7 separate regions of the Homo sapiens genome follow, and all the other regions are linked to region 7. The links are contacts of gene promoters, found by promoter capture Hi-C in blood cells and fetal thymus (Javierre and others, 2016). All regions are on one chromosome and are shown on one strand. The core of a region is centred on a gene start or on the middle of the fragment in contact, and the rest is flanking DNA. Distances in the headings are between cores, read along the strand shown. Region 1 has its middle 6.6 kb from the start of KRT18. Region 2 overlaps KRT8 (keratin 8). Region 3 has its middle 16 kb from the start of KRT8. Region 4 has its middle 19 kb from the start of KRT18. Region 5 has its middle 11 kb from the start of KRT78. Region 6 has its middle 17 kb from the start of EIF4B. Region 7 holds the start of KRT83 (keratin 83).

Region 1 (3,891 bases), core at 1,334-3,833, 620 kb after region 7:
CAGTGGTTACCATAGCTGGGGGTGTCGGGGAGGAGGTGTGGGGGTGAGCAATGAACTTGACTATAAAAGAACACAGTGGATTTTTTTTTTTTTTTTTTGAGACGAAGTCTCCCTCTGTGGCCCAGGCTGGAGTGCAGTTGCGCCATCTCAGCTCACTGCAACCTCCTCCTCCCAGGTTCAAGCAATTCTCTTGCCTCAGCCTCCTGAGTAGCTGGGACTACAGGCGCCCATCCCCATGCCCCGCTAATTTTTTTGTATTTTTAGTAGAGATGGGGTTTCACCATCTTGGCCAGGTTGGTCTTGAACTTCTGAACTCGTGATCCACCCGCCTCACCCTCCCAAAGTGCTGGGATTACAGGTGTGAGCCACCACACCCAGCCTGGAGCTTTTTGAAGGGATAAAAATTATGTATTTTGATTATGGTGGCATTTCCACAGCTGCATCCATTTGTCAAAACCCATCAAACTGTATACCTAAAAAGGGTGAATGCTACTGTAGGCAAATTGTGCATCAATACATTAATTTTTTTTTTTTTTTTGAGATGGAGTTTCACTCTTGTTGCCCAGGCTGGAGTGCAATGGCGCGATCTTGGCTCACCACAACCTCCGCCTCCTGGGTTCAAGCGAATCTCCTGCCTCAGCCTCCCGAGTAGCTGGGATTACAGGCATGTGCCACCACGCCCGTCTATAAATCTAAATGTTTTAAAACAAGAAAACCCACAGATGCAGGAAGATCATAGGCTCAGCCTTATATGTGAAAAGCTTAAGGTTTCCTTGAAACCTCCAATTAGGGATAATATCCACCAGCAGGAGATATGGTTCTGAGTCTCAGAGGAGGGGATTCTGGTGGATGCTATAAAAAGCCACGGTGCCAAGTGTTCTATCTGCGAAATCTTACCCTTAGCCCCCGGGCTCCTCTAGCAAGTTTTTGCTCTTTTTTTTTTTTTTTTTTTTTTTTTTTGAGACAGTGTTTCACTCTTGTTACCCAGGCTGGAGTGCAATGGCGTGATCTCAGCTCACCGCAACCTCCACCTCCTGGATTCAAGCAATTCTCCTACCTCAGCCTCCCGAGTAGCTGGAATTACAGGCATGTGCCACCACGCCCAGCTAATTTTGTATTTTTAGTAGAGACAGGGTTTCTCCATGTTGGTCAGGCTGGTCTCGAACTCCCAACCTCAGGTGATCCGCCCGCCTCAGCCTCCCAAAATACTGGGATTACAGGTGTGAGCCACCGTGCCTGGCTTTTTACTCACTTTTTGAAGCCCTGTCTGAGCATTCATTTGACCTCCGTGAAGTTCTCCATGACCCCAGTCCTTCAGCACGTAGAACGCAAGCTCCATGAAAGCAGCAACCTTGTGGCTTTTCTGTGCTGTATTCTCAGATCCTAGACCATGCTGGCATTAGGTGCCTTACAAAGCGTTAATGAATTAATGAATTCTTCCTTTCTCTGACAGTCCTCTGGAGCTTGTCATAGCACCAATCACACTGTATTTTGTTTGTCCAATGATCTGTTCCCTCTAATAATAATCTCCTTGATTATTATTGTCTAGTTGTATTTATCTTTGTATTCCCAGGTCACTATTGGTGGAAGTGAACTAAACCGACAGCCTTAAAGCTCCATGTTGATGATTCTTCCAGGAGGAGGAGGCACACTTAACAAGCACCTGCTCCGCCCCAGGCCCTATCATACATGCTTAATCTCTGCAACAAACCGATAAGGAAGCTGGAGATCAGAGAAGCTCGCCGACTTGGGCACCCAACTTAGGCACCCAACTTGACCAAGGTCACCTAGCAAGGAAACAAGCAGAGCTGGGATTCAAACTGAGATCTGTCCAACTCCAAAATCTTGTTTCTCCATCCTCTCTTTTCCCAAAGATTCTTAACCCCATGATTTTCAGTGCCTTCAGCACCCTGAAGTGACATCACCAGCTGCTCTGACCCCAGATTCTGATACTCTCTCTCACCTTCCCCATCTCACGCTCCTGTGCTTTCTCTGCAGCTTCCAACTGCCGTGCCACCTCAGTCCCGGGCTTCCTCCTTTTCCACTAAACTCTTCTGTTTGCCTTTGCTTCCCCACCCAAGGCCCAGCCCTTTCAGCCATGTTTTAAGGCTTCTTTGTCCCTGAGCTTCCACCTCTCCTGCCTTCTCATCCCTCAGTGAAGCCCACCATTTTTTCTCTCCCACCCCCAGGATACGCAGTGTTTCTTGTGTGGCTGGTCTCATCATGAAGCCATGTTGTGTAACTGCTGTTGGGATCTCAAGACCACTGACTCACCTTCTTATGCCTCATGGTTAGAACACAGAGTTCACCTAATGTGCCACGGTGTCCTCCTGCCTCTGCCACACGCTTCTGATTGGGGAGGAAGGAGCCTAGAGAGGTTACACACAACACATCCCAGCTCTGCCACCTACTAGGATATCACTTTTCAGGTTGCAGCTTAAATGTCACTCCACTCCCCCAGAATCTCAAGCAGGATTAGTGTTTACTGATTTGGGCTTCCATTGTTCCCTGGACTCACCCAGGCATAGCACCAACCACACTTTAGTGCTATTGCTTGTTTAATTACTGATCAGCTTTACTAAACTGTCTCATCCTAAGGCAACCGTCCATCAGTTCTGCGACCTAACAACCGCTTGGCCTCCCGATTTCTCCTGTCCGTCGCTGATAAACTGCTTGAAAGAAAAGTCTACATTTTGCCTCCACTTGGTCCTCTCTCTCCTCCCTCTCAGTCCACACCCCGGCTCCAGGCTCCATCGCTCTACTGAAAGTGCTCTTTTTGTCCTCAGCCTCCCTGATCCTTTTGTGCACCTGGCCCTGTGGGCCCCCCTTCCTTGAACCTCATTCTTCTTGGCTTTCATGACGTCCTCTCTCCTGGTCTCTTCCTGGGAACTTAGAGATCTAGGCCTTCTCCTCTTTCTCCTCTTCTCCCTCTGTCTCTTCCTCTTCTTCTTGCCTCAAGTCCCTCTGTGCTGACTCTGCTCCTTCTTTTCCCTGATCCTTTCCCTTAGGCCACCTCACCCACAACTGGGTTTCACCCAAATCCTTGAGGGGGATGCTCCAGGTGGGCCCGTTGCACGTGGCCGTGCAGGGTGTTCAGTGTACAGGCACACCCTGCCAGGAAACAAGGAAGAGGCTCCCTCTCTGCAATTTGTGTAAAGGCCCCGCAGGTTAGCTGTGACCCTGGCATCCATACCTCCTGCCCCATGCCTCTCCCAAGCTCCAGCCCTGCTCTCCTAGCTGCTCACAGGATAGTTCCCTAAACACTGCTGGCAGAACCTGCCCAGCCTAGGCCAGGAAAGAGGCTGACAGAGACAGAGCCGGCTGACTGGATGATCTGGAGATAGGTTCTTGGCCACTCTGTTCTTCCATTTCACCCCCCTTTTCAAAGACTCAGTCTTAGCCACCCTGCCCTGAGCCCATGTTAGATGGAAAAAAATAGTGGTGAGCAGGGAGCAGAAGGCTGGAGAGTAGTAAGTGCAAAAGAACAAGGGGGCTGGGAAGAAAAGGAGCAAATGGGGCAAAGCAGACAGGAGGGGAGGTCAGCTGGCTTCTCAGCTGCCAAAGCTCTTCCAGGCACGTCATCTCATTTGGTCCTCATGAAAACTCTCTAAGTGGATATTACTATTTTTCTCATTCTACAGCTGAGGAGAGACCAAGCTAGTAAAGGCTGCTCAAGATCACTAAGCCAGCAGTGGGGAATATTGTGAAATATTGAAATATTTTATTATTTCATAGAGACAGGGTCTTGTTATACTGCCCAGGCTGGTCTCAAATTCCTGGCCATAAGCGATTCTCCCACCTCAACCTCTCAAAGTGCTGGGATTACAGGCATGAGCCACCTGGCCGAATCCAGGTCTTTTGACACCAAGTGCCCTATTCATCCCTTTGCCC
Region 2 (4,169 bases), core at 1,357-3,856, 580 kb after region 7:
AACCCCGTCTCTAGTAAAAATACAAAAAAAATTAGCCAGCCTGGTGGCGGGCGCCTGTAGTCCCAGCTACTCAGGAGGCTGAGTCAGGAGAATAGTGTGAACCCAGGAGGCGGAGCTTGCAGTGAGCCGAGATCACGCCACTGCACTCCAGCCTGGGCGACAGAGCAAGACTCTGTCTCAAAAATAAATAAATAAATAAACGAGACTAAGGAAGCAGATCAGGGAGACATGAGCAGTTTCCAGGTGCTTCCCCTCCACACCCTTCTCACCTGCGACACTGTAAGGTCCCCCTACCCTAACTGGACTAGATCCCTGGGTTCTAGACTTTCCTTAAAGCAGCAGAGCTCAACCTTACCCTGATGCATATGACTGATTAAAGCAGGCTTGGGAGCATGTATCACGAGCCCCAACATACCTGCCCCAGTCCCCTTTCACCTCTGTCCTGGCCCAAGGGACCTTCCCTGCATCCCTTTGCTTCTCAGAAGCAGACTGAGAAGCTGAACTGTGGCTGCCCCTCCAACTCCTGAACCCTGGTCTAGGATTCCTTCCCCGACTCCCAGAAACTTCACTCTTCCTACATTATCTCCTCTCACCAGGATGTGTCCAAGGAACCCCTCCCACCCCCAACCCGGCCCATACCTGGCCTTTGAGGCCCTCAATCTCAGCCTGGAGCCGGCTGATGTTCCGGTTCATCTCAGAGATCTCAGTCTTTGTGCGCCGCAGGTCATCCCCGTGCTTCCCAGCCAGGCTCTGCAGCTCCTCATACTTGATCTGGTACATGCTCTCAGCCTCAGCCCGGCTGCGGTTGGCAATATCCTCGTACTGTGCCTTGACCTCAGCAATGATGCTGTCCATGTCCAGGGAGCGGCTGTTGTCCATGGACAGCACCACAGATGTGTCCGAGATCTGGGACTGCAGCTCCCGGATCTCCTGTGGGGGAAGAGGGCAAGTGGTGAGGCCCTGTCTCTGCACACAGGGAGCCCCCTTTTCCACAACAGCCTTTCTTAGGGTATAAGACAGGGGCAGCAGAGGAGAGGAGCAGGTGGGAGTCAGGGTCAGGGAGAGGGCAAAGTTCCTGAAAAAGGAACTGGGTGCACCAATACTAGGTGCACAGAGGGATCCAATGCAGCTCAAAGATTAGGAACAAGGGCTTTGGGGACAGAGTTGCTGCTGAATCACCACACCCTATGATGACCTTGGATACGTTATTTCACTTCTCTGAGCCCACTTTCTCGTCTGTGAAATGGGGTAATGACTCATCCCTCATGCGAGGGACAGAACATATAGACCCAATAAATACTAGCCGAGCAAATATTGGTGGCTGTAATTAGTCAGCAGTGGGCCTTTGTCTTATTAGTGTGCTGGGGGCTGGGAGGAGCCTCTGGTTGAGTCTCAGGGTGGAGGCGCTGACAAGGCTGGGGGACCCTCACTCTCCTGCGACCAGGAACATACCTCTTCATATAGCTGCCTGAGGAAGTTGATCTCGTCGGTCAGCCCTTCCAGGCGAGACTCCAGCTCTACCTTGTTCATGTAAGCTTCATCCACATCCTGGGGGATGAGGAGAGGGGAGCCTGAGCTGGGTTTCCACACCCAACCCCAACCAAGGGGCTCCCAAGGTCCACCCAATGGCCTGGTCACAGGACTTTCTAGTTGCCCACTTTGTGGATTGATCTTCCAGCCCAGCCTCTGCCCATCACATGTGCATTCTCAGCCCACACACCTTCACCTCTGCTTCCTGCAACACACCCTCTTCCACCTCCTTCTCTAGGGAGCCTTCTAGAGCCAGATCTCCAGTTCTACTGCTCTGTTTTCTGAACCATGTCCCAACACCGATGTCAAGAGTTCTGTCCAAATGCACCTACCACTCCATCCTTGTCTACCTTTCTGTGCACCCAAATGTTTACATAAATGAGTTTGTCCCACTACTTAGGAATATTTAGGGACAAAACCCAGAAAGCTTCTTGGTCTGAGTCTCTGAGCCCCAGCCTCCAGTGTCCAGATAGGAGAAGGGAGACTCCCTCACCTTCTTGATGAGGACAAATTCGTTCTCCATCTCTGTACGCTTATTGATCTCATCCTCATACCTGTGAGGAAAAGACTTACAATTAGAGGATGAAGGCAAAAGGGAGGTTGCCCTTGGTCTTTTGGGAGACAGGGGCGTTGTGAAAATCAGGAAAATTCAGTTCACAGAGATGCAGGATATGAGAAGGCTGGTCCTTCTGCCTTCCCCAGCTGCCCTCTCCACCCTCACCCCTCCCTTAGCCCGTGGGAAGCAGGAAATCTCTCTCCAAATCCATGAATACACATCGGATTGGACACCTTGAGAGTGTTAACAGCAGGGCCTGACATGAGACCTCAGACAGAACTTTCTAGAGTTTGCTAGAGGTCAAGGGTCAAGACTAAAGAGGGGCCAGAATGTTAAGTACAAAAGTGAGGCCCACAGGCTGCCTATCTCTCCCGTCTCAGGTTTACCATGTCAACATTGACACATAATTTGTTCTTCAAATCCAGACAGTTGAGATTGAAAGGGGGTGGGTACTATCAACAATTGTGCTAGGAACCTGGGCATAAACACAGACTGTTCCGAGCAAACCTCATCAGGTGGTCACCCTAATTAGATAGGACTGCACTTCCCACAACAGAGGGCCATGGGGACTTAGTCCCAAGGTCCCAAGGGGTGGAGGAGAGCACGGTGACTTCAGTTGGGTGGAGGGTGGGAGTTGCTCACTTGTTCTTGAAGTCCTCCACCAGCCCCTGCATGTTGCCAAGCTCCGCCTCCAGCTTCAGCTTCTCCTGGCCCAGAGTCTCCAGCTGCCGCCTAAGGTTGTTGATGTAGCTCTCGAACATGTTGTCCATGTTGCTTCGAGCCGTCTTCTGCTGCTGCAGGAGGCTCCACTTGGTCTCCAGCATCTTGTTCTGCTGCTCCAGGAACCGTACCTATACGAAGGAGGAGAGAGCAAAAAGGTCTACATCAGGCCAGGGCTCAAAGTCTGGAGGAAAGCAAGCAGTCTTTTCTCTTAATTCACTCCTCAAGCAGTAAGGTCTCCAGACCCCAGGCACCTGGTTAGCTGTTCTGGAAAGATCACCTATGACCAGGGGGAGAAAGCATGGCATGATGGTGAGGTGGGGAGCAATGTCCCTCAGCATTGGGTAGGGGAAGGAGACAGGTAAGGTAATTATGTTAAAGCTGCATTTGCAAACCAATAGGCCTAACTTCATTTACATAGGTTGTATATTACACATCAATAAAAATAGCCAAGCTTTCTTTGGGAGTCTCCGGCGCCCAGGCTGGAGTGCAGTGGCAAGATCTCAGCTCACTGCAAGCTCCGCCTCCCAAGTTCATGCCATTCTCCTGCCCCTGCCTCAGCCTCCCGAGTAGCTGGGGCTACAGGCACCTGCCTGCCACCACGCCCCACTAATTTTTTTGTATTTTTAGTAGAGACAGGGTTTCACCGTCTTAGGCAGGATGGTCTCGAACTCCTGACCTTGTGATTGGCCCGCCTTGGCCTCCCAAAGTGCTGGGATTATAGGCGTAAGCCACCGCGCCCGGCCAAAAATAGCCAACCTTTCTAAAGATGTTAAGATTGAAAAAGAGGCCGGGCGTGGAGGCTCACGCTTGTAATCCCAGCACTTTGGGTGGCCAAGGCAGGCGGATTTCTTGAAGTCAGGAGTTCGAGACCAGCCTGGCCAACATATTGAAACCCTGTCCCTACAAATAATACAAAAATTAACCGGGCATGGTGGCACGCACTTGTAGTCCCAGCTACTCGGGAGGCTGAGGCAGGAGAATCGCTTGAACCCAGGAAGCGGAGGTTGCAGTGAGCTGAGATCACACCACTGCACTCCAGCCTGGGCGACAGAGTGAGACTCTGTCTCAAACAAACAAAAAAACTTGTAACTCCTTCTAAACTGGAGGGGACAGAAATCTTTTAAGGGTACAGCCTAGTTCCCTCCACCACTCTCTGCAAATCGCTTTCTTCCCCAGGTCATTCTGCCCCAAAATTATTTTTTAAAAAAAAGTGATTATAACATCTTATCCTAATGGAATGTGGGCCAAGCACTGCTGAACTCTTTACATATGTAAGTTTGAATAGGCAAAAACTTTTGCCTATATGGATTTAGGGGCTCTCATATTCATTTTATAGATGAGGAAATAAGACTTGGCAAGG
Region 3 (3,997 bases), core at 1,383-3,882, 600 kb after region 7:
TAACCTCCTTGCAGAACAGAACAGTGTCTGCTGCCTCTTCCCAGGGTAGGTGGTCAAGTGGAAGAAAGTGCTAGCTCAGCAGGGTGGAGGGTAACTAGGAGGTGGCAATTGGGTCTATAAGGAGGAGCTTATAGGATAGTAATAAAGAAATAGCATGTAAAAATCCGCCATTATGCAAAACAGAAGCTTGCAAATCCAATTCCTAGGGAGCTAGCCATGCAAACAGAGCCCTGCCTACTGACGCCCACTTGCTTTCCCCAACTCTCAACCCAGGGCTCCTTTCCCTGCCAATGATGGTGGCAGTGGTAGTGATTAGGATTGGGAACCATGGTGATCATGATGGGTTTCTTTTTTGTTTTTTTGTTTTTGAGACAGAGTCTCACTCTGTCACCCAGTCTGGAGTGCATGTAGTGGCACTACCTCAGCTCACTGCAACCTTCGCTTCCCGGGTTCAAGCAATTCTCCTGTCTCAGCCTCCCAAGTAGCTGGGACTACAGGCATGTACCACCACTCTCTGCTAAGTTTTTGTATTTTTAGTAGAGACAGGGTTTCACCATGTTGACCAGGCTGGTCCCAAACTGCTGGCCCCAAGTGATCTGCTCGCCTCAGCCTCCCAAAGTGCTGGGATTACAGGTGTGAGCCACCATGCCCAGCCATGGCTTTCATTTTCAGGGTTCCTACCAAGTGTCAAAGTGTCAGATCTCTTACATATATTATATATTATTTTATTTTATTTTAGTCTATTTTATTTTGAGATGGAGTCTTGCTCTGTTGCCCAGGCTGGAGTGCAGTGGCACGATCTTGACTCACTGCAACCTCCACCTCCTGGGTTCTCAAGCTATTCTCCTGCCTCAGCCTCCCAAGTAGCTGGGACTAAAGACCTGCACCACCATGCCCGGATAATTTTAGTATTTTTAGTGAGACAGGGTTTCACCATGTAGGCCAGGCTAGTCTTGAACTCCTGACCTCAGGGGATCTGCCTGCCTTGGCCTCCCAAGGTGCTGGGATTACAGGCGTGAGCCACCGCACCTATTATTTATAATCCTAAACTAATCCATGAGGAAGGTAACATTGTTCTCATTTTACAGACAAGGAAACTAAAGCCCAAGGTCCTTTGGTTAGTGTGACAGAGACAGGAATTGAACCCAAGTCTGGAGTAATTTTAGAGCTTGAACATTCTCTTTTCAATTATGCTGTTTTATAGTCAGGATCCAATTATGTCCATTAAGAGATGTAATAATGTCAATAACTCAAAAGGGAGGATTCAAAACATGTTTATTATTTTATTTAGCAATCCAAAAGAGCTATATTACATTTATTTATTGAGCATCTGTACTACCTCTCCTACAGTAGGGATTCTGGCAGACTTGGGGGACCTCTCCCCATCAAAATGGACAGCCCCAGCCCAGGCACGGTGGCTCACGCCTGTAATCCCAGCACTTTGGGAGGCCAAGGCAGGCAGATCACCTGAGGTCAAGAGTTTGAGACCAGCCTGACCAACATGGAGAAACCCCATCTCTACTAAAAATACAAAATTAGCCAGGCATGGTGGCACATGCCTGTAATCCCAGCTACTTAAGAGGCTGAGGCAGGCGAATTGATTGAACCCAGGGGGCAGAGGTTGGGGTGAGCTGAGATTGTGCCATTGCACTCCAGCCTGGGCAACAAGAGCGAAACTCCATCTGAAAAAAAATTAAAAATGGACAGCCCCATGAGGGCAGAGACCTTGACTATGTTGTTGACCGTCACATCCACAGCATTAGAAAGACATCTAACAGGCACTCCACCAGTATATGATGAACGAATTCACAAATGGCTGAACCAGCCTGCCAGGTAAGCCTGTGCCCAGCCAGGCACAGTGGCTCACACCTGTAATCCCAGTACTTTGGAAGGCCAAGGGAAGATCACTTGAGGCCAGGAGTTCAAGACCAGCCTGGACAACCAGCGACATAGCAAGACCCTGCATGTGTGCATATATGTCTGTAAGACAGAAAATGAGACAGAGAGACTCTAGAGAGCACGCAGCTCAGCTAAAGAAAAGACCTGCTACCCACCACTCTGTAACCAACCTGCCCCCACCCCATTCCCTGGTCTCTAAGGACTAAGATAACCCCAACTCAGATACAATGACCCATTCATAGGCCTTTAGGAAAATCTGTTGACCTGGATGGTGGGAATGGGCTAAGCCCAGGCCAGCCCAGGCCAGCTTAGCCTCAGGGACCTGTTAGTCAAGTTCCCATGGCAACACAACTAATTGTGTGTTTATGCATTCCCTACAGAACTCCAGGCAGAGGCCATCTATTCCCCAAGGCCACATTCTACCTTCTCTCTCCTTCCTTGCCTCCCCAAGTTTCCTGGGTGACCATCCAGGGAACATTAAGAGAAGCTTAAGTAGCAACAGCAGCCTCCAGAACATGGAAGGCAAAGGAGGGAAAGCCTCTCTGAGGGAGAGGACCAGTACTTCTTGCTCACAATTGTCCAGCTGCAAAAGTCAAACTCCCTAGTCCTCCTCCTGGACCCACAGTTCTATGGCTTCGATGGCTCCCACATGTCACCACACTAAACCTCCACCCCCAGGCCCCCATGGCCTGACCCTATCCTACTTGACTGCCAGCTCCTGCACAAACTCCCTCTTCACTTATGCAGTGCACAGGCCCAGGGCCCCTCCTTCCTCTCTCTTTGTGTCCCTCTAGCCTGGCTCTACCCCCAAGGACTTCCTTCAGGAAGCCCTCCCAGATGGACTATTCCTCCCAGGCTTCTCCCTCCAGCCCTCCAGCCTGGAGCCTCTGATTGTGCATCCCCAGCTGTGGCCGGATCTCCCAGAGCTGGGCATGGGTTCAGCTATTCCCCCATGGCCTAGCAGTTTCCTTAAGGTGGTAAAGCTTTTAATTCTTACAGAAACTATAAAATAAGCATTATCTGCATTCTAGAGTGGAGAACACTGAGCCTCAGGATTAAAAGCAATGTGCACTGCTTGGCACAGTGGCTCACACCTGTAATCCCAGCACTTTGGAAGGCCAAAGTGGGAGGATGGCTTGAGGCTAGGAATTCAAGACCAGCCTGGACAACACAGCAAGACCCTGTCTATACCCCTCTCCCCCACAAAAAAATTGTTCTAATTATCCAGGCAGAGTGGTGCACACCTGTATTTCCAGCTACTTGGGAGGCTAAGCAAGAGGATAACTGGAGCCCAAGAGTTTGAGGCTGTAGTGTACCATAATTGCACCTGTGAGTAACAATGGCACTGGGTGACAGAGTGAGACCCTGTCTCTAAAAAAAAAAAAAAAAAAAAAAAAAAAAAAAAAAAAATGTAGCAAATGGGAGAGCCAGAACTGGACCCCGTCTGCCTCCAAAGCCATGTCTCTCCTCCCCACCTTATACCTCCCTCTCTCCCTGAAGACAGTACCATATGGCAGGCACTCCCTGTACCATAGGTTTTTATAACTGCATTTATTCCTCACAATTAAATCTATGAGGAGGCCAGGCACGGTGGCTCACGCCTGTAATCCTAACACTTTAGGAGGCTGAGGTGGGTGGATTACTTGAGCTCAGAAGTTCAAGGCCAGCCTGGCCAACATGGCGAAACCCCGTCTCTACTGAAAATACAAAAATTAGCCAGGCGTGGTGGCACATGCCTGTAATTCCAGCTACTCGGGAGGCTGAGGCAGGAGAATCGCTTGAACCCAGGAGGCAGACTTTGCAGTGAGCTGAATTTGTGTCACTGCACTCCAGCCTTGGCGACAGAGCAAGACTCTGTCTCAAAATAAATAAATAAACAAACCTATAAGGAAAGTACAAATAACCTCATTTTACAGATGAGGAGATGAAAGTTCAGAAACTTTCCATCTACTTCCTAAGTCATGTAGCATCTAAGTGCTAGGATCAGAATTCCACCCAGCTCTTCTGGCTCCAAAACCCAAAGTTTAGCTTCCCAGTCCCCTGGATCTAGGCAGACAGTCTGGGAGATGCAGGAGGCAGGAAGGCAGATTCTGCAGCC
Region 4 (4,285 bases), core at 1,326-3,825, 650 kb after region 7:
GGCCGGGCGCAGTGGCTCACGCCTGTAATCCCAGCACTTTGGGAGGCCGAGGTGGGCGGATCACGAGGTCAGGATATCGAGACCATCCTGGCTAACACGGTGAAGCCCCGTCTCTACTAAAAATATAAAAAATTAGCCGGGCGTGGTGGTAGGCGCCTGTAGTCCCAGCTACTCAGGAGGCTGAGGCAGGAGAATGGCGTGAACCCGGGAGGCGGAGCTTGCAGTGAGCCGAGATCTCGCCACTGCACTCCAGCCTGGGCGACAGAGCGAGATTCCGTCTCAAAATAAATAACCAAATTAATTAAATTAAATTTAAAAATTTAAAAAAATTAGCCTGCCTTGGTGGTGCGCACCTGTTATCCCAGCAACTCGGGAGGCTGAGGCAGGAGGACTGCTTGAGACCAGGGGTTGAAAAACAGGCTGGGCAACAAAGTAAGACTCCATCTCTACAAAAAATTTTAAAATTCACCTGGCGTGGTCGCGTGTGCCTTTGGTCCCAGCTACACAAGGGGCCCAGACGGGAGGATTGCCTGAGCCCCAGAGGTTGAGGCTGCAGTGACCCATGTTTGCACCACTGCACTCCAGCCTGGGTGACAGAGTGAGATCTTGTCACAAAGATAAATAAATAAATAAGTAGAATGCAGAGCAATGAAACCCTCATATGTTGCTGGTGGGAATACAAAACGTGTACAACTACTTTGGAAAACAGTTGGGCCGTTTTTTCTAAGTTTAAAAATACACCTCCCAGCGCGGTGGCTCACGCCTGTAATCCCAACACTTTGGGAGGCTGAGGCGGGCGGATCACGAGGTCACGAGTTCAAGACCAGCCTGGCCAATATGGTGAAACCCTGTCTCTACTAAAAATACAAAAAAAAAAAAAAAATAGCCAGGCGTGGTGGCATGCGCCTGTATTCCCAGCTACTTGGGAGGTTGAGGCAGAAGAATTGCTTGAACCTGGGAGGCGGAGTTTGCAGTGAGCTGAAATCTTGCCATTGCACTCCAGCCTTGGGCAACAGAGCAAGACTCTGTCTCAAAAAAAATAGTAATAAAAATAAAAATATACTTACCAGCTCGGTGTGGTGGCTCACACCTCTGATCCCAGCACTTTGGGAGGCCGAGGTGGGTGGATCACCTGAGGTCAAGAGTTCGAGACCAGCCTGACCAACATAGAGAAACCCCGTCTCTACTAAAAATACAAAATTAGCCAGGCGTGGTGGTGCATGCCTGTAATCCTAGCTACTTGGGAGGCTGAGGCAAAAGAATCACCTGAACCCGGGAGGCGGAGGTTGCAGTGAGCCAAGTTTGTGCCATTGCACTCCAGCCTGGGTGACAAGAGTGAAACTCCATTCTCAAAAAAATAAATAAATAAAATAAAATAAATAAACAGATGGTTCAAGTTTGGCCTCTCCCAGTAGGAATCCTCTTTGTGGCCTTCCTAACATCTGGCCTCCGTTTGAAGAATTTATGACAGTATAGCCCCTGTTGGATAATAATTGTATAATTACTGGAACATTATTGTTCCTTCTACTGGGCTGAAATCTGCCTCCTACTAACCTTCTAAACTCAGCTCTGCCCACTAGAGTTACACAGAACTCCCTCTTCCATTAGATTTCAGCCATAAGTGATTATTCTTCCCCTAACCTGTATAAAAGCAGCCCCAGTCACGGTGTAAGGATTTAGCTGCACTGCTGGCCTCAACCTCACCTGCCTGAATGAGCTGGAAAATAATTATCTACACAGAAACAGCCCAAGGAATTAGAATGATAGTGATGCTCAGATCCGGGGAGGCTGTGTCCCCCTGAAGGCCCTGGTCAGATCCTGGTGAAGTGGATGGTGCTGCCACAGGAGGGATGTAGGGTAAACTTCTCAGAGACTCAGGGCACTCCAGTGATCTGGGCCCAAAGCACACAGTTCCTTTTCCTCTCCCCACAATCCACACTGGAGCAGCAGGCTCTAGTGGGCCCCTCCCAGGCTGGCAGAACTTTCCCTATCACCCACTCCCCAGAAGCAAAAAAAGTTTAAAAAGCACCAGCCTAAGGCTGGGTGCAGTGGCTCATGCCTGTAATCCCAGCACTTTGGAAGGCTGAGGCGGGCAGATCACAAGGACAGGAGTTCAAGACGTGCCTGACCAACATGGTAAAACCCCGTCTCTACTAAAAATACAAAAATTAGCCAGGCATGGTGGTGCATGCCTGTAATCCCAGCTACTCGGGAGGCTGAGGCAGGGGAATTGCTTGAACCCGAGAGGCAGAGGTTGCAGTGAGCCAAGATCATGCCATTGCACTCCAGCCTGGGCAATGGAGCAAGACTCCGTCTCAAAAAAAATAAATTATTGTACATTTAAAAATAACTAAAAGAGTATAATTGGATTGTTTGTAACATAAAGGATAAATGCTTGAAGTGATGGATGCCCTGATGAGATTATTATGCATTGTATGCCTGTATCAAAATATCTCGTGTACCCTAAAATAGATACACATACTGGGTACCCACAAAAATTAAAAACTTTTTTTTTTTTGAGACAGAGTTTCACTCTTGTTGCCCAGGCTGGAGTGCACTGGCTCAATCTCGGCTCACTGCAACCTCCGCCTCCCAGGTTCAAGTGATTCTCCTGCCTCAGTCTTCCGAGTAGTTGGGATTACAGGCGCCCACCACCACACCTGGCTAATTTTTTTTTTTTTTTTTTTTTTTTGGATTTGGAGTAGAGACGGGGTTTCGCCATGTTGGCCAGACTGGTCTCGAACTCCTAACCTCAGGTGATCCACCTGCCTCGGCCTCCCAAAGCGCTGGGATTACAGGCATGAGCCACCAGACTCAGCCAAAATTAAAAACTTTAAAAAATAAATTAATAACCACAGCAGTAGCTAGTAGCTAATGGCTACCAGATTGGACAGGACAGTGCAGCACCAGACTGTAAGCTCCCTTTGAGCAGAGACTGGACTATCTTGTTCACTCTTATGCCCTGATACATAACACAATTCCAACACATAAACAGCAGGTTGTTATTTTCTTTTTTAAAGACAAAAATTTGAAATTGTAATTTTTATTAAATTGTAAATAAAATGTTATTTTATTTTATTTAATAACCTATAGCATTTGCCAATATCCAAGGTATAAATACTGCTGTCATGGTTGATTTAAAATGGTTTAATTCTGGGAAGCAAAATTTTCAAATTTAACAATCTTCTCTTACTAGCTTTTGAATGAATAAGCAAATGAATGAACAAATAAATGAGCAAATAACAAACCAAGAGGAGTCTCTGCATGCCTCACCCAAGGAAAAGAGGACAAAGGAGAGTAGAAGAATATTTCAAGATGCCAGCAGTCCTCTCACTCTCTTTGCAGGTCCTCTTTGTTCCAGGAAAGAGAACTTAGTGGGAGAACAATTGAACTTCCTCAGCTTCGCTTCACACACACCCCAGCTTTAAGAAAGCCCAGGAAGAATTTGTTTTTTTTTTTTTTTTTGAGACGGAGTCTTACTCTGTCACCCAGGCTGGAGTGTAGTGGCGTGGTCTCGGCTTCTCAGCTCACTGCAACCTCCACCTCCCAGATTCAAGCGATTCTCCCGCCTCAGCCTCTCCAGTAGCTGGGATTACAGGTGTGCACCACCACGCCCAGCTAATTTTCGTATTTTTAGTAGAGACAAGGATTTCACCACGTTGGCCAAGCTGGTCTCAAACGCCTGACCTCAAATGATCCACCTACCTCGGCCTCCCAAAGTTCTGGGATTACAGACATGAGCCACCTCACCTAGCCTTTGGATTACAGACATGAGCCACCTCGCCTAGCCTTTTTTTCTTTTTAAGGAAAAAAAGAAAAATAAAATCTCATCTTAATCTGCTCCATTTTTTTTTCTTTTTAAAGAAACTTTCCCAAGTCACTTAAACAGTCTTCGTAATGGGAAGGCACTCAAACTATAAATCTCCCTGTCATTTAGGAATGCTCAGTGCAAATGTTTATAGAACCCGGGCACCACTTTCAACCTCTCCTTTGAAGAAGGGCTTTGTAATCCTCCTCTGGGGTCACTCCTACATTCCAAAAATGTTCAGGAAAGGAAGGGAAGGTGCCCACCAGTGGGACAGCTTAGACCCAGGTCCCCACCCTCAGGTTCGGCCCTAAGAACATAAAGATACAAGAAAGGTCACGAGGTTAATTCAAAGCCAAGGAATGTCATGGCAGTAAATGCTGCAGGTGTTCACGGGGAGGATGATGGCCATGATTTGTGGCAGAAGTGAAACCTGAGAGATGCTAAGACTTGTGCAGTGGGAAAGGTGAGAAAATAATG
Region 5 (4,049 bases), core at 602-3,101, 540 kb after region 7:
GAGGCAAGAGAATTGCTTGAACCTGGGAGGCGGAGGTTGTGGCGAGCAGAGATCATGCCATTGCAATCCAGCCTGGGCAACAGAGTGAAACTCCATCTCAAAATAAAAAAAAGGCCTGGCGCGGTGGCTCATGCCTGTAATCCCAGCACTTTGGGAGGCCGAGGAGGGCAGATCACCTGAGGTCAGGAGTTCGAGACCAGCCTGACCAACATGGAGAAACCCCATCTCTACTAAAAACAAATACAAAATTAGCATGCCTGTAATCCCACCTACTAGCGAGGCTGAGGCAGGAGAATCGCTTGAACCCGGGAGGCAGAGTTTGCAGTGAGCCAAGATCACGCCATTGCACTCCAGCCTGGGCAACAAGAGCAAAACTCCATCTCAAAAAAAAAAAAAAAAATGTAAGTCGTTTTTCTTTGTGCCATCTGAGTCCATCTTGTGTTTCTTCAGTGGCTTACACAGTACCCTTGAGTACTCTCTACTAAAAACCCTTGAGGAAGGGCTCTAAGTTCCTCCAAAGCCAGGAAGGGCAAAGATGAATGTGGCTATTCCCTGACTTCTAGCACCAATCTTGGCCTGTCAGGCAAGAGAGAAAGGAGGGAGCAGATTACAGAGTGCACCCCTTCTCTACCCCATACCCAGGCAGAGCACACTCTTGCATTCTCTGCCCCGGTACCCTCCTGCCTGCTGGGCTGCAGCAGGTAGCCCCCGCTCCCCTCACTGAACTGGCAGTGAAGGAAAGTGGCACCCACCCAGGCAATGGGTTCACTGCAACAGGGAAAGGGTGCCCCACAGGTAAGCCAAGCTGCTGCCTCTGCAGCTCCCCCATGCCCAGGTAGAGAGGCCCCGAAACCTACAAGGAGGGCATTCCTAAGGCAGAAACCCTGGAGAGAAAGGATTAGCAAAACATTGCCTGGGAGTCCAGAACTGAAGTATATGTCTCCAAGTTCCAAGTTGAGGGTGGGAGTGAGGGATGATGCCAAACTTTGGAATAATAATGGCCCTTTTACCCATGGTGGCTAACATGATCATGTTCTACAACACACTTTAAAAAATACTATTGGGGGCCGGGCGCAGTGGTTCACGTCTGTTATCCCAGCACTTTGGGAGGCCAAAGAGGGCAGATCACTTGAGACCAGGAGTTCAAGACCAGCATGGCAAACATGGTGAAACCCCATCTCTACTAAAAACACAAAATTAGCTGGGTGTGATGGCGCATACCTCTAATCCCAGCTATTCAGGAGGCTGAGGCAGGAGAATCACTCGAACCCCAGAGGTGGAGGTTGCAGTGAGCAGAGATCACGCCACTGCACTCCAGCCTGGGCAACAGAGTGAGACTCCATCTCAAATAAATAAATAAATAAAAATACTATTGAGAACTCTCTGAGTGCCAATCACTGTGCTGGGCCTGTGCAGATCCTTCATCTTCTTTTATCTTCACCACAATCTGAGATGTGGGTATTATTTTTCCTTGCTCTACAGACACAGAAATAAAGCAATTGTCCAAGATCTCAAAGATGGAAAGAGGCCAAGTTAGGATGAAAACCCAGATCTTCTAAACATACACCGCCCCAATAGTCTTCCCAGGAACACTGTACAGCCTTCATGTAGTATGTATATGTACATGTTTCCTGTATAACAAAGAGACCAGAAGCTTCCCTGGTGCTGGGGGCTATGGGGAGAGCCCAAGGGAGAGGACACCCGCTCCCACTCTGCTGCAACACACAGCACTCTGCTCAGGGATGGGGCAGTGGCGTGTTATTGTTACACAAGGGGCTCTCTGTCAGGGAGGGAAGATAAGTCTGTTCTGTAGTGTTTGCCATTTTCCGTGGTGCAAATATTCCATGGCTGATTTCAAGCTGCCACCATGATGTCACTGAATGCAGAGCTGGGAAGAGATGCACACAATCAGGTCTCCTGAGTTTGCTCAAGCAGGCCCAGCACACCATGGGCCAGGGGTGAAGAAAGGGAGACTGTCCCAGGCTGGGAGTCAGGAACACACATCCAGGAACAAACTGCTGGTGCCTGAGAGAGGAAGGGGATTGGACAAAGCTTCCAACTCTGGGGGACCCTGAGAGGGGAAGAGGGAAGTGTTCAGACAAGAACTTGAGTTGAGAGTCCAGACACACCCATCCAGGGCTTAGTACCCAGCCACTGCAACCCTGACCCAATCAGGTTCAGCCAGTTGGGTGCCCTGCTGCTAGCAACAGCTCCTGATTTGGCAAATATTATGAGGCCTGTTACTAAGGACAGCCTCCCAATACCCCAGAGGGTGAAGAGCAACTTCCAGGGGAAAGTTGCCAAGATTCTTACACCCTGAGGATGTTCAGTCGAAGCTGCAGCAGGAACTCCCGGACTGGGAGACAGGGTGGGGGATTACATGGACCAGCTCCCTCCCACTCAACCATCTCGCCAGCATCTCTCCCATGGCCATCTGAGTGCTGTGCCCTGGGTGTTGGAAGTAAGGTTCTGCCCGTCTTCAAGGAACTTCCATCTGAGAGGAGATCTGTATTTTCAAAACTGCAAGCTACAACCCACTAGTGGATTGTGAAATCAATTGCATGAGTCTTTACCAGCACATGAGTGTGCATCACAGGTAGTAAGGGTAATATTGCACCATGAAATTTTGTTTGGGGTGTGTGTGTGTGTGCGCGCATGCAGAACTGTAATATAAAATGAATTTATTATTAGAGATCACTGTTCAAAAAAAGTTTCAGAAATTCCCTGACAGAGGAAGTGGTACCCACACCCAAACACACACAAACCCAAGAAAATAAGACCAGAAACAGGAGCAGCGTTAGGTGTCAGGACTTGGGGATAGAACATAGAGGTTTAGTCTGGGAAACTTTTCCAAAGGAGAGAAGTAATGAAAAGCAGAGTTAGAAAAGGGAAACAAGAAACTGAGGCATCTCTCCCAATCTATCCTGGAAGGGAGAGGAAATTCTCTTAATATCTAATCTAATCCCTAAACCCGCTGATGTGCTCTTCCCTGAAGCCCACCTACTCCTCAAAAGGAAAACCCACAGGTCCCTCCTCCAGGTAACCACCTTTTCTGGGTCATGACAGTGACACAGCTGGTCGGGGCTAGGGAGGGTGGAGTGAGCTGGGCTCGGGGGCACAAACAGCGGCATGCTGGGCACAGCCAGGCAGGAGGGCCCAGCGCTGCAGGTGCTGGGGCAACACAGAACAATACCAGATTCATGCCTGCCCTTGGGAAACGTAGACTCTAGTTAAGAAGACCAAAGTAGGCTGGGCATGGTGGCTCACGCCTGTAATACCAGCACTTTGGGAGGCCAAGGTGAACCGATCACGAGGTCAGGAGTTCGAGACCAGCCTGACCAACATGGCGAAAGCCCATCTCTACTAAAAATACAAAAATTAGCCAGGTGTGGTGGCACATGCCTGTAGTCCCAGCTACTTGGGAGGCTGAGGCAGGAGAATTGCTTGAACTCGGGAGGCGGAGGTTGCGTGAGCCAAGATTGCGCCATTGCACTCCAGCCTGGGTGACAGAGCAAGACTCTGTCTCAAAAAAAAAAAAAAGACCAAAGTAACACACACCTAGAGCAAGCCAACAGCAAAAGCATCCCACAGGGGCGTAACACTTGCCAGTGCAGAATGGCAGAGCAGTGAGATCTTGCAGATCATCTCGTCCAACACGCTGTCTCACTGCACAAGAAACTGAAGCCCAGAGAGGAAAAGCAACAGGCCAAGGACACATAAAAAGGATGGGACTAGAGCCCACTAGGCCAGGACTCATTTCATCTTGCAATATGGACAGCCTGGAACAAACCCTGAGACTAGGATGGAGACACAGGGAGGGGGACCTCAACACCCCACTTCAGACAAGCTCATTCATACTATTATCCACCCATCGACATTGACTGGGCACTTCTCAGTGCCAAGCACTGTGCCGGGTGCTTCAGATGGCAACGAATAATCCCGTCTAGGGGAGAGTGGAGTGCACCTGTTGCCCTCCAGGAAAGAACACGGGCTCTGTGACCTCCCTGACCTGCTGCAGCCTCCTTTACCATCAGGAAGCTCTCAGGTCT
Region 6 (4,077 bases), core at 1,126-3,625, 670 kb after region 7:
CCTCAGCCTCCCAAGTAGCTGGGATTACAGGCGCCCATCACCATGCCTGGCTAATTTTTGTATTTTTAGTAGAGACAGGGTTTCACCATGTTGGCCAGGCTGGTCTCGAACTCCTGACCTCAGGTGATCTGCTCACCTTGGCCTCCCAAAGTACTAGGATTACAGGCATGAGCCACTGCACCCAGCCCCTTCAACTTCTTATTTTTGGATATACCAAGAATATAATCAATGTGCTCAATATAATTTTTGACTGCTTTTGACTAGACTCTTATAGCTCTGTAAGTTTAAAAAAAAAAAAAACTGATGGTAGGCCAGGTGCAGTGGCTCATGCCTATAATCCCAGCATTTTGGGAGGCTGAGGCGGGTGGATCACCTGAGGTCAGGAGTTCAAGACCAGCCTGGCCAACATGGTGAAACCCCATCTCTACTAAAAATACAAAAATTAGCTGGGCGTGGAGATGCACAGCTGTAACCCCACTTACTCAGGAGGCTGAGGCAGGAGAATCGCTTGAACCCAGCAGGCAGAGGGTGCAGTGAGCCAAGATTGCACCACTGCACTCTAGCCTGGGCGACAGAGCAAGACTCTGTCTCAAATTAAAAAAAAAAAAAAAAATTAGCTGGGCATGGTGGCAGATGCCTGTAATCCCAGCTACTTGGGAGGCTGAAGCAGGAGAGTTGCTTGAACCCGGGAGGCGGAGGTTGTAGTGAGCCGAGATCGTGCCCCTACACTCCAGTCTGGGTGACAGAGTGAGACTCCATCTCAGGAAAAAAAAAAAAAAAAAAAAAAAGAAAGAGAAGAAAGAAAGGGAGGAAGGAAGGAAAGAAAAAGGGAAAGAAAAAAAGAAAGAAAGAAATGTTTGTAGGTTGGGCGCAGTGGCTCACGCCTGTAATCCCAGCACTTTGGGAGGCCATGGTGGGCAGATCATGAGGTCAGGAGTTCGAGACCAGCCTGGCCAACATGGTGAAACCCCGTCTCTACTAAAACTACAAAAATTAGCCAGGTGTGGTGGCGGGTGCCTGTAGTCCCAGCTACCCGGGAGGCTGAGGCAGGAGAATCGCTTGAACCCAGGAGGCGGAGGTTGCAGTGAGCCAAGATCGTGCCACTGCACTCCGGCCTGGGCAACAGAGCGAGACTCCATCAAAAAAAAATACAAAAATACAAAAATTAGCTAAGCATGGTGGTACATGCCTGTAATCCCAGCTACTTGGGAGACTGAGGCAGGAGAATTACTTGAACCCAGGAAGCGGAGGTTGCAGTGAGCTGAGATCATGCCATTGCACTCCAGCCTGGGTGACAAGAGCGAAACTGTGTCTCAGAAAAAAAAAAAGAAAGAAAGAGATGTTTGTTGTTGGCCGGGCGCGGTGGCTCACGCCTGTAATCCCAGCACTTTTGGAGGCCGAGGTGAGTGGATCACCTGAGATCACCTGAGGTCAGGAGTTCGAGAGTAGCCTGGCAAACCTGGTGAAACCCCGTCTAAAAATATAAAAATGAGCCAGGTGTGGTGGTGGGTCCCTGTAGTCCCAGCTACTCCGGAGGGCTGAGGCAGGAGAATTGCTTGAACCTGGGAAGTGGAGGTTGCAGTGAGTCGAGATTGCACCAGCCACTGCACTCCAGCCTGGGCGACAGAGTGAGACTCCGTCTCAAAAACAAAAAAGAAATGTTTGTTGTTTAAGCCACCCTGTCTATAGTAATTTGTTACAGCAGAACTGACTAAGACAGACACAAGATCAAGGTGGGAGAAAGTGTAACTTGACCCAGCTCTGTGATGAGTTTATCCATAGCTCCTTCCTCTATTACATTTACCTTTGATTTGTCTATTAGATAATACTCCACTATTTATATATTCATTACTCATTTATCCACAGATATACAATAAAAACATTAATCAGGTGAATTACTTTCTTATCAATACCTGCCAAGAAAATACAACTAACTATAAATTTGTAATAAACTCCCAAGGGGCAGAGGTTGGGTTTTTAGTTGCTTCTCAAACATACCCCATCATTCAAAAGTCTGAACTGGAAAGTAAGAAGGAAAAGAAGGAGAACTTTAGTATGCTAGTGTCAAACAAGCCTGTCCTAATAAGCAACCCCAAACTGCTCTCCTGTCTGGGTCCAGAATTGGGTTTGGTTTTGAAATACCACGTGGGAAATTTCTAGCCAAAGTCCTCACCAGTTCCTCCTTTGACTAACAATCTCCAACCCAGGAAGTGGGAACTACAGAGTCTTTGGTAGAGGTGGTTGGATTTACTCAAGAAAAAGCCCCACCTGAACTCCCCAAGCAGAAATCTTCATTAGAAAAATAAACAAAACGACCGGGCGTGGTGGCTCATGCCTGTAATCCCAGCACTCTGGGAGGCCGAGGCAGGCGGATCACGAAGTCAAGAGATCGAGACCATCCTGGCCAACATGGTGAAACCCCATCTCCACTAAGAATACAAAAATTAGCTGGGCGTGGTGGCACACGCCTGTAGTTCCAGCTACTCAGGAGGCTGAGGCAGGAGAATTGCTTGAACCCGGGAGGCAGAGGTTGCAGTGAGCTGAGATCACACCACTGCACTCCAGCCCAGTGACAGAGCAAGACTCTGTCTCAAAAAAAAAAAAAAAAGTAGAAGAACATTAAAAAAACAGGTTTAGGCTGGGTGCAGTGGCTCACACCTGTAATCCCAGCACTCTGAGAGACCAAGGCAGAAGGATCACTTGAGGCCAGGAGTTTGAGATCAGCCTGGGCAACATAGCAAGACACCCATCTATACAAAAAATTTTAGAAGTTAACTGGGTGTGGTGGTGCATGCCTGTAGTCCAGCTACTCAGGAGGCTGAGGCAGGAGGATTGCTTGAGCCCAGGAGTTCAAGGTTGCAGTAAGCCATGATTGCACCACTGCACCCTAGTGTGGGCAACAGAGCAAGACTCTGACTCTAAAAAACAACAAAAACTGCTGGACGTGGTGGCTCATGCCTGTAATCCCAGCACTTTAGGAGGACGAGGTAAGTGGATCACCTGAGGTCAGGAGTTTGTGACCAGCCTGACCAACATGGCGAAACCCCATTGCTACTAGAAATACAAAAATTAGCCAGGCATGGTGGTACACACCTGTAGTCTCAGCTACTCAGGAGGCTGAGGCAGGAGAATTGCTTGAACCCAGGAGGTGGAGGTTGCAGTGAGCCAAGGTCGCACCACTTCACCTCAGCCTGGGCAACAGAGCGAGACTCCGTCTCAAAAAAAAAACACACACACACACACACACAAAAACAAACAACAAAAAAAAACCAAAACAGAAATGAGGTTTACATGTTACAAGGCCCTGAAGAAGAGGAAAAAAACTGTGTATAAAATACCACCTGGATAAAATAAGCCAAATACACAACTAAATGGGAGACCAGGCCAACAGGATGTCTTGGGAAGATGTCTTGAAGTAGGAGGGGCTTCTCCTGCAAAGGATTTGGCAAGACTAAGAGGGAGCAGGCATTCCAGATGAAGAGAATGATGAGTAACATGGAAAAGCCCAGCGTCCGCTCCGGGCCAGGCAGAAGTTGAGGTGACAGATATAGTAGGAAAAGCAAGCTGAGGGCAGTTCATGCAGAGCTTTCAATGCTGGAGAGTAGGGCCTTGGAAAGAGATGTGGTGACACAGTAAGAGCGCTCTTTCAGGGAGATTTATCCAGGAACTATGTGCTAGGTGGATGGGCGGAGATGAACTCAAGTGGGACAATTCCTGAAGCAGCACAGAGGGGAAAGGAAAGTCATAGTTAGAGCGGAGTTCATGGGGACGGAGGAGAAGGGAAGGATAGGAACCCCTACCACCTTCTCCCTTGCTCACCAAGTTCCAGCCACAACAGTCTCCTTGGGCCGCAAACATGCCAAGCACCACCTCAGGGTCCTCGCCTGCCAAGAACACACTTTGCCTTTGCAACACTCTTCCCCAGATATCACTAGGCCTTGCTCTCACATTTCTACTTCCTTCACCTCTACTTCAGTCCCTCTGGCACTTGACAACTAAATATAAAATACAACTCTTCCCCCATGGCGTATTCTCTAGCTCTCTGGCTTTCTATTTCTCCATGGCACTTATCATCAT
Region 7 (4,191 bases), core at 1,260-3,759:
CTGGTCTCAAAGGGACCCAGGAATACAAGTTTTTGTGAAAAATGGATGGAGAAAGGGAGAGAGCATTGTTTCCCTGATCTGCTGGTGGAAAGACAAGCTGAGCCTCCATCCCCCACACCCAAGGGACCCCTGTGTCTCAAACAGGGGGTACAGGTTCTTCTCCACTCTCAGGCAGAGATGCCAGCTGCAGACTGGATACTCCTCCGGGCTCAGGGAGCTGCCACCATGCTATTTCCTGTGCCCAGAACCCCTCCTGCCCACACTCACTTCTTCTTGTAGCCCTCCAGCACCTCCTGCACGTGGTTGAGCTCTGAGGCCAGCCTCCCACTGTCAGCCTCCACGCACTCGGCCTCCCGCCGCAGAGTCTCGATGTAGCCAGCAAACAGGGGCTCCAGGTTACTCTGGCAGCACTCGCGGTTTTGGTAGAACTGCAGCTTTGTCTCCAGCAGCTTGTTCTGCTGCTCCAGGAAGCGCACCTGCCACCCAGAGGCAGAGCCTAAGAACCTCTTCTTGCAGCATCAGAGGACAAAGAGGGGTTCCCAGCACGAGGGCCTGAAAGCCCCCAACTCTCTGACCCAGAGTCTTCCCTGGAAGGCGTTATGTCATCTCTCTCAAAAATGCCACCAGGGCTTAACCAGTTCACCACCTGGAAGTTCTTCCTGGGAGTTAATCTCTTCTAAGTCAGTTTACCTGGTGTCATGGAAAATGCTTGAAGAGTCCAGATTCTGCTGCCACTTGTTAACATTGTGCCCTTGGATAAAGCACTCACCTCCTCTGTAGAGTGGCGAGGTTAAAGCTCACCTTACTATGAGGATTAAAAGAACCCTTTAACAGAAAGGCACCCCACACTGAACAGCTACTGCTGTTCAATCACACCAAGCCAGGTGGACCTTTTTAGAAAGGCAAACTGTAAAAGTTGAAAAATAAAGCATGTGCCAATTATTCAAACCCTACAACAACAATGCAATTAGAATAATAGTCACCTGCAATATGAGAGTAGGAATGTCCTGTGCTCCAACCCCCTTATTTTACTGATGAGGCCAAGGAGGTTCCCTGACTGCCTGAGAGCTCACAGTGGCAGAGAAGAGCTCAAACTCCGATCTTCTGCGCTGCAGGGGGTGTCTTCTCTCCCTTTGACAATTATAGGAACATCCCTCTCCCAGCGATGAGGTTGGCCCACTACTCCACTCAGCTTCTTTTGTCTAATAACTTGGCCACACCCTTGGTAGGTCCTATCTTATGCTATCCTTGGTCTCTCATGCTATTAGAAATTCCACATTTTTTTTTCCCGATCCTTTCTGGTGGGCATCTCTCTAGTGTGACTCCTCTCTTGAGGTTTTGGCTCTGGAGGGCTCTTTCCAACCCCAGAACATGTTCCTAGTCAGAGCCTTTTCTCCCAGTCTCTCACATCACTGCCACATGGTGGTTGCCTGGATTCAGTGGAGAAGGTGGCTGCAAACTCTAGTTGGACACTGACTACACAGATGGTTTCAACCAAACCCAGACTGTGCACTGCCTGCCTCCCCATAAAGCCTGTGAGGATGGGGACCATGACTCTTGCTCACCCCTGGATCCTGAGCCCCAGGAACAGTGGCTTGGACAAAATACTCTAGACCCTGCTCAGTGGCCAAATCACTGTGTGGTATAGAAAGAGTTCTGTGCCATCCACGAGACCCACTTCCAGACAGTTTTCCAGCACCACACTTATTAGCCCTGCCTTGATGGAGACAGCATCTCCTTGGCATTTAAGCAGTTATTTGGCTTCAAATGCCCTGAGCGCCCACACAGTGGTCCTTTGCTCACTAGGTGATATTATCACTCAGTGTGGAAGGCTCTGCCCCTCGTTCTGCTTTTGTGTTTTCAGTTAATCTCCCCCATCAGTCTGGTAGCTCCCGGTCCCATTTTTGTCTTTCTGTCTGTGTCCTAGAAGTATGACTACCTTTCCCTTTGGCCTGGGAACTTCTGTGGGCAAGTTCTTGCCTTTGACTTCCCTGTCAGTGCCCAGCCTGAGTTCTGAACATGAGTAGGGGTTCAGGAAGGGTGTGATCCAGGACGACACCCACCTTGTCGATGAAGGCCGCGAATCTGCTGTTGAGGGACTTGATCTGCTCCTTCTCCTCCTGCTTCACGCACTGCGCGTTGGGGTCTATCTCCAGGTTGAGGGGCGTGAGGAGGCTCTCGTTGACCGACACGGTGGTGATGCATGGGGGGCTGGGTCCGCACACGCCCCCGGAGCGGTAGCCGAAGCTGCGTCCGCAGGAGCCGGCGCGGAAGCCCCCGCACACGCTGTGGCTGCCAAAGCCCCCGGTGAGGCCGCGGTAGCAGGAGATGCCGCGGTAGGGGGCGGCGGTGATGCAGCAGCGGCTTGGCCGGGGCCCGCAGGCAGAGACACAGCTGAAGTTTCCAGGGCGGAACCCACAGCCTATGGAGTTGAAGCCACAGGTCATGACGGAGGTTAGGAGGTGTCTGAACAGTGGAGTAGATGGCAGAGGATGGAACCAAGGGCCTGTGCTCCCTGGCTGATGGCAGGCCCTTTTATGTGCCAGGGGCAGCTGGTGTTAAAAGAGGGAGCAAAGAGACAATAGCTGAATTTTATTGGCTTGGCATCACCCTGGCCTCTTAAGCTAGAACCCTGCTTGCCTCTTCAGTGTGGCTGCATCAACAATCCCTGGCCACGGGCCCTGTTTCATCTTCAAAGCCCTTTATAAGCTTCCTCCTTGCTCCTGCCCCTCCCACTGGCACTGCTGTGGAGCGGGGAGAGGGGTTCCTGAAAGCATTAGTTGCATTCTGCGGTCCAAGCGAGGGGAATGGGTGCAGTGACCTGGGGTAAAGCCTGCTCTCTGAACCCTGTTCTGAAAGGGGCAGAGCTAGGCTATGGGCCCTGGACCCATGGCCAAGCCCTGGGGTGGAGTGGCTGGCCTGTCCCAAGGAGGGGGCTGCCTCTGAGACAACCTCTTGCTGTAGGCTTTCCTGTCTTTTTCTCAAAGGCGGGTTCCTTTCCTCATTGTCAAGATTGGCCGCTCCTATCCTATTCCTGCTCAGAGCCTGGTCAAGGATGGGAGTGGGGGTAGAGATTTGGGGTGGGAGGAGGGCATGTTCTTTGCACTTTGGGTATTCCTAGTGCAGGGACACCATCTGGGACATGGAAGAAACTGATTCAGAGAGTTCAGGACAGTGCCAGGGCTATGCTTCAGAGTTCCAGGTGTCATTGCTGATGGGATCAGGAGCGGGGAGTGTGGAATACCTCAGAGCTCCAGGGACTCATGGAGGAGAGTGGGGACCTGGGCTTGAGGAGGATTGGGGTGGGGTAGTACAGGATTGAGAGATGACCAGAAAAGAGTCTGGCTCTGATTTGCAGACTAGACTATGTGTATTCATTTATTCATTTATTCATTTATTCATTTATTCAGGAAATACTTATTTGGTGCCCACCAACTATGCACTAGCCACTGTGCTAGGTTCTGGAAATCCTACAGAGACCTGGGGTGTTTGGAGGTAGCATGCATGTGGGGGAGCCAACATTTGGCTAGGGGGAAAGATGAGAAGCCACAGATGGGGGGAAGGCCCTCACAATGTCCAGGCTGATTGGTGTTCTTTAGGTTCCCAGCAGGGAAGCTCAGTGATGGGGTCTTGGGGTGTATGTACTCACCAGGAAGGAGGGAAGGTGCGGGAGGTGAGGGACATCAGCAGGGTCCTTAAATGAGATCACTCTCTCACCTCAGAGAACACACTGGGTGAGAGAAGGGTGCTAGCTCATGTGGCTGTTCCTAAAGCCAAGCTCTCTTACTTTGGGCCCTTGTTCCTTTGGGTTAGGACAGGCAATGGCTTTGATGGATGGACAGTCGGACCGAGCCAGGAGGTTTGCCTTAACCCGAGGACCTGAGCCCATCAACCCTTCCAAACACACATCTCTGGACTGCTTTCGTCAGGAGAGGATGAGGAGGACTCCACTGATGGACCTGTGTCCTGACCCAGCCACAACCCAACACTGACCCACTCTGGGCTAATAGTAACCCTCCTGTGACTCTCATCTTTTGCCCTTCCCACTCCCGCTCAGGATGAGTGGGCCAGTTATATCCCAGAGTGGGGATCTGGGGATGATGGAAGAGGGGCCCATCTTCTGTGGGCCTGAGGGAGGGCAGGCGATGGTGCTGTTGAAATCTCTTAGGGAGCTGGACATCTGCCATGGAT

What was found. The method cuts DNA at HindIII sites, captures the fragments that hold promoters and counts their contacts. A CHiCAGO score of 5 or more calls a contact.
Region 1: a contact is called between a fragment that was not itself captured here and the fragment with the promoter of KRT83 in region 7, in 1 of 17 cell types (M0 macrophages). The highest score is 5.7, in M0 macrophages.
Region 2: a fragment that was not itself captured here is called in contact with the fragment with the promoter of KRT83 in region 7 in 2 of 17 cell types (naive CD8 T cells and naive CD4 T cells); the score reaches 6.1 in naive CD8 T cells.
Region 3: a contact is called between a fragment that was not itself captured here and the fragment with the promoter of KRT83 in region 7, in 4 of 17 cell types (M1 macrophages, erythroblasts, M2 macrophages and 1 more). The highest score is 7.1, in M1 macrophages.
Region 4: a contact is called between a fragment that was not itself captured here and the fragment with the promoter of KRT83 in region 7, in 7 of 17 cell types (M2 macrophages, M1 macrophages, naive CD8 T cells and 4 more). The highest score is 8.7, in M2 macrophages.
Region 5: a contact is called between a fragment that was not itself captured here and the fragment with the promoter of KRT83 in region 7, in 3 of 17 cell types (endothelial precursors, fetal thymus and total CD8 T cells). The highest score is 6.2, in endothelial precursors.
Region 6: a fragment that was not itself captured here is called in contact with the fragment with the promoter of KRT83 in region 7 in 1 of 17 cell types (M0 macrophages); the score reaches 5.5 in M0 macrophages.

Annotation. Positions count from the first base shown.
Region 1 is chr12:52,940,546-52,944,436 of GRCh38, forward strand. It overlaps a transcript of KRT8 not described here. Among named protein-coding and RNA genes, the nearest start is that of KRT18, 6.6 kb to the right of the region's middle. RefSeq lists an enhancer at 3,210-3,804. The HindIII fragment of the contact is 3,648 bases long and covers 760-3,891 here.
Region 2 is chr12:52,899,136-52,903,304 of GRCh38, forward strand. It overlaps KRT8 (keratin 8), which reads right to left. Exons shown (of 8, transcript NM_002273.4): 2 at 2,729-2,937; 3 at 2,024-2,084; 4 at 1,453-1,548; 5 at 640-930. Among named protein-coding and RNA genes, the nearest start is that of MIR9898, 2.2 kb to the left of the region's middle. RefSeq lists enhancers at 1-279, 2,298-3,142. The HindIII fragment of the contact is 1,303 bases long and covers 1,956-3,258 here.
Region 3 is chr12:52,918,913-52,922,909 of GRCh38, forward strand. It overlaps a transcript of KRT8 not described here. Among named protein-coding and RNA genes, the nearest start is that of KRT8, 16 kb to the left of the region's middle. RefSeq lists an enhancer at 1-128. The HindIII fragment of the contact is 496 bases long and covers 2,385-2,880 here.
Region 4 is chr12:52,965,987-52,970,271 of GRCh38, forward strand. No RefSeq gene overlaps it. Among named protein-coding and RNA genes, the nearest start is that of KRT18, 19 kb to the left of the region's middle. The HindIII fragment of the contact is 7,174 bases long and covers 1-4,285 here.
Region 5 is chr12:52,858,078-52,862,126 of GRCh38, forward strand. No RefSeq gene overlaps it. Among named protein-coding and RNA genes, the nearest start is that of KRT78, 11 kb to the left of the region's middle. The HindIII fragment of the contact is 398 bases long and covers 1,653-2,050 here.
Region 6 is chr12:52,986,922-52,990,998 of GRCh38, forward strand. No RefSeq gene overlaps it. Among named protein-coding and RNA genes, the nearest start is that of EIF4B, 17 kb to the right of the region's middle. The HindIII fragment of the contact is 7,088 bases long and covers 1-4,077 here.
Region 7 is chr12:52,318,889-52,323,079 of GRCh38, forward strand. KRT83 (keratin 83) reads right to left here and starts at 2,510. Exons shown (of 9, transcript NM_002282.3): 1 at 2,064-2,510; 2 at 268-476. The coding sequence starts at 2,447. The HindIII fragment of the contact is 9,694 bases long and covers 1-2,707 here.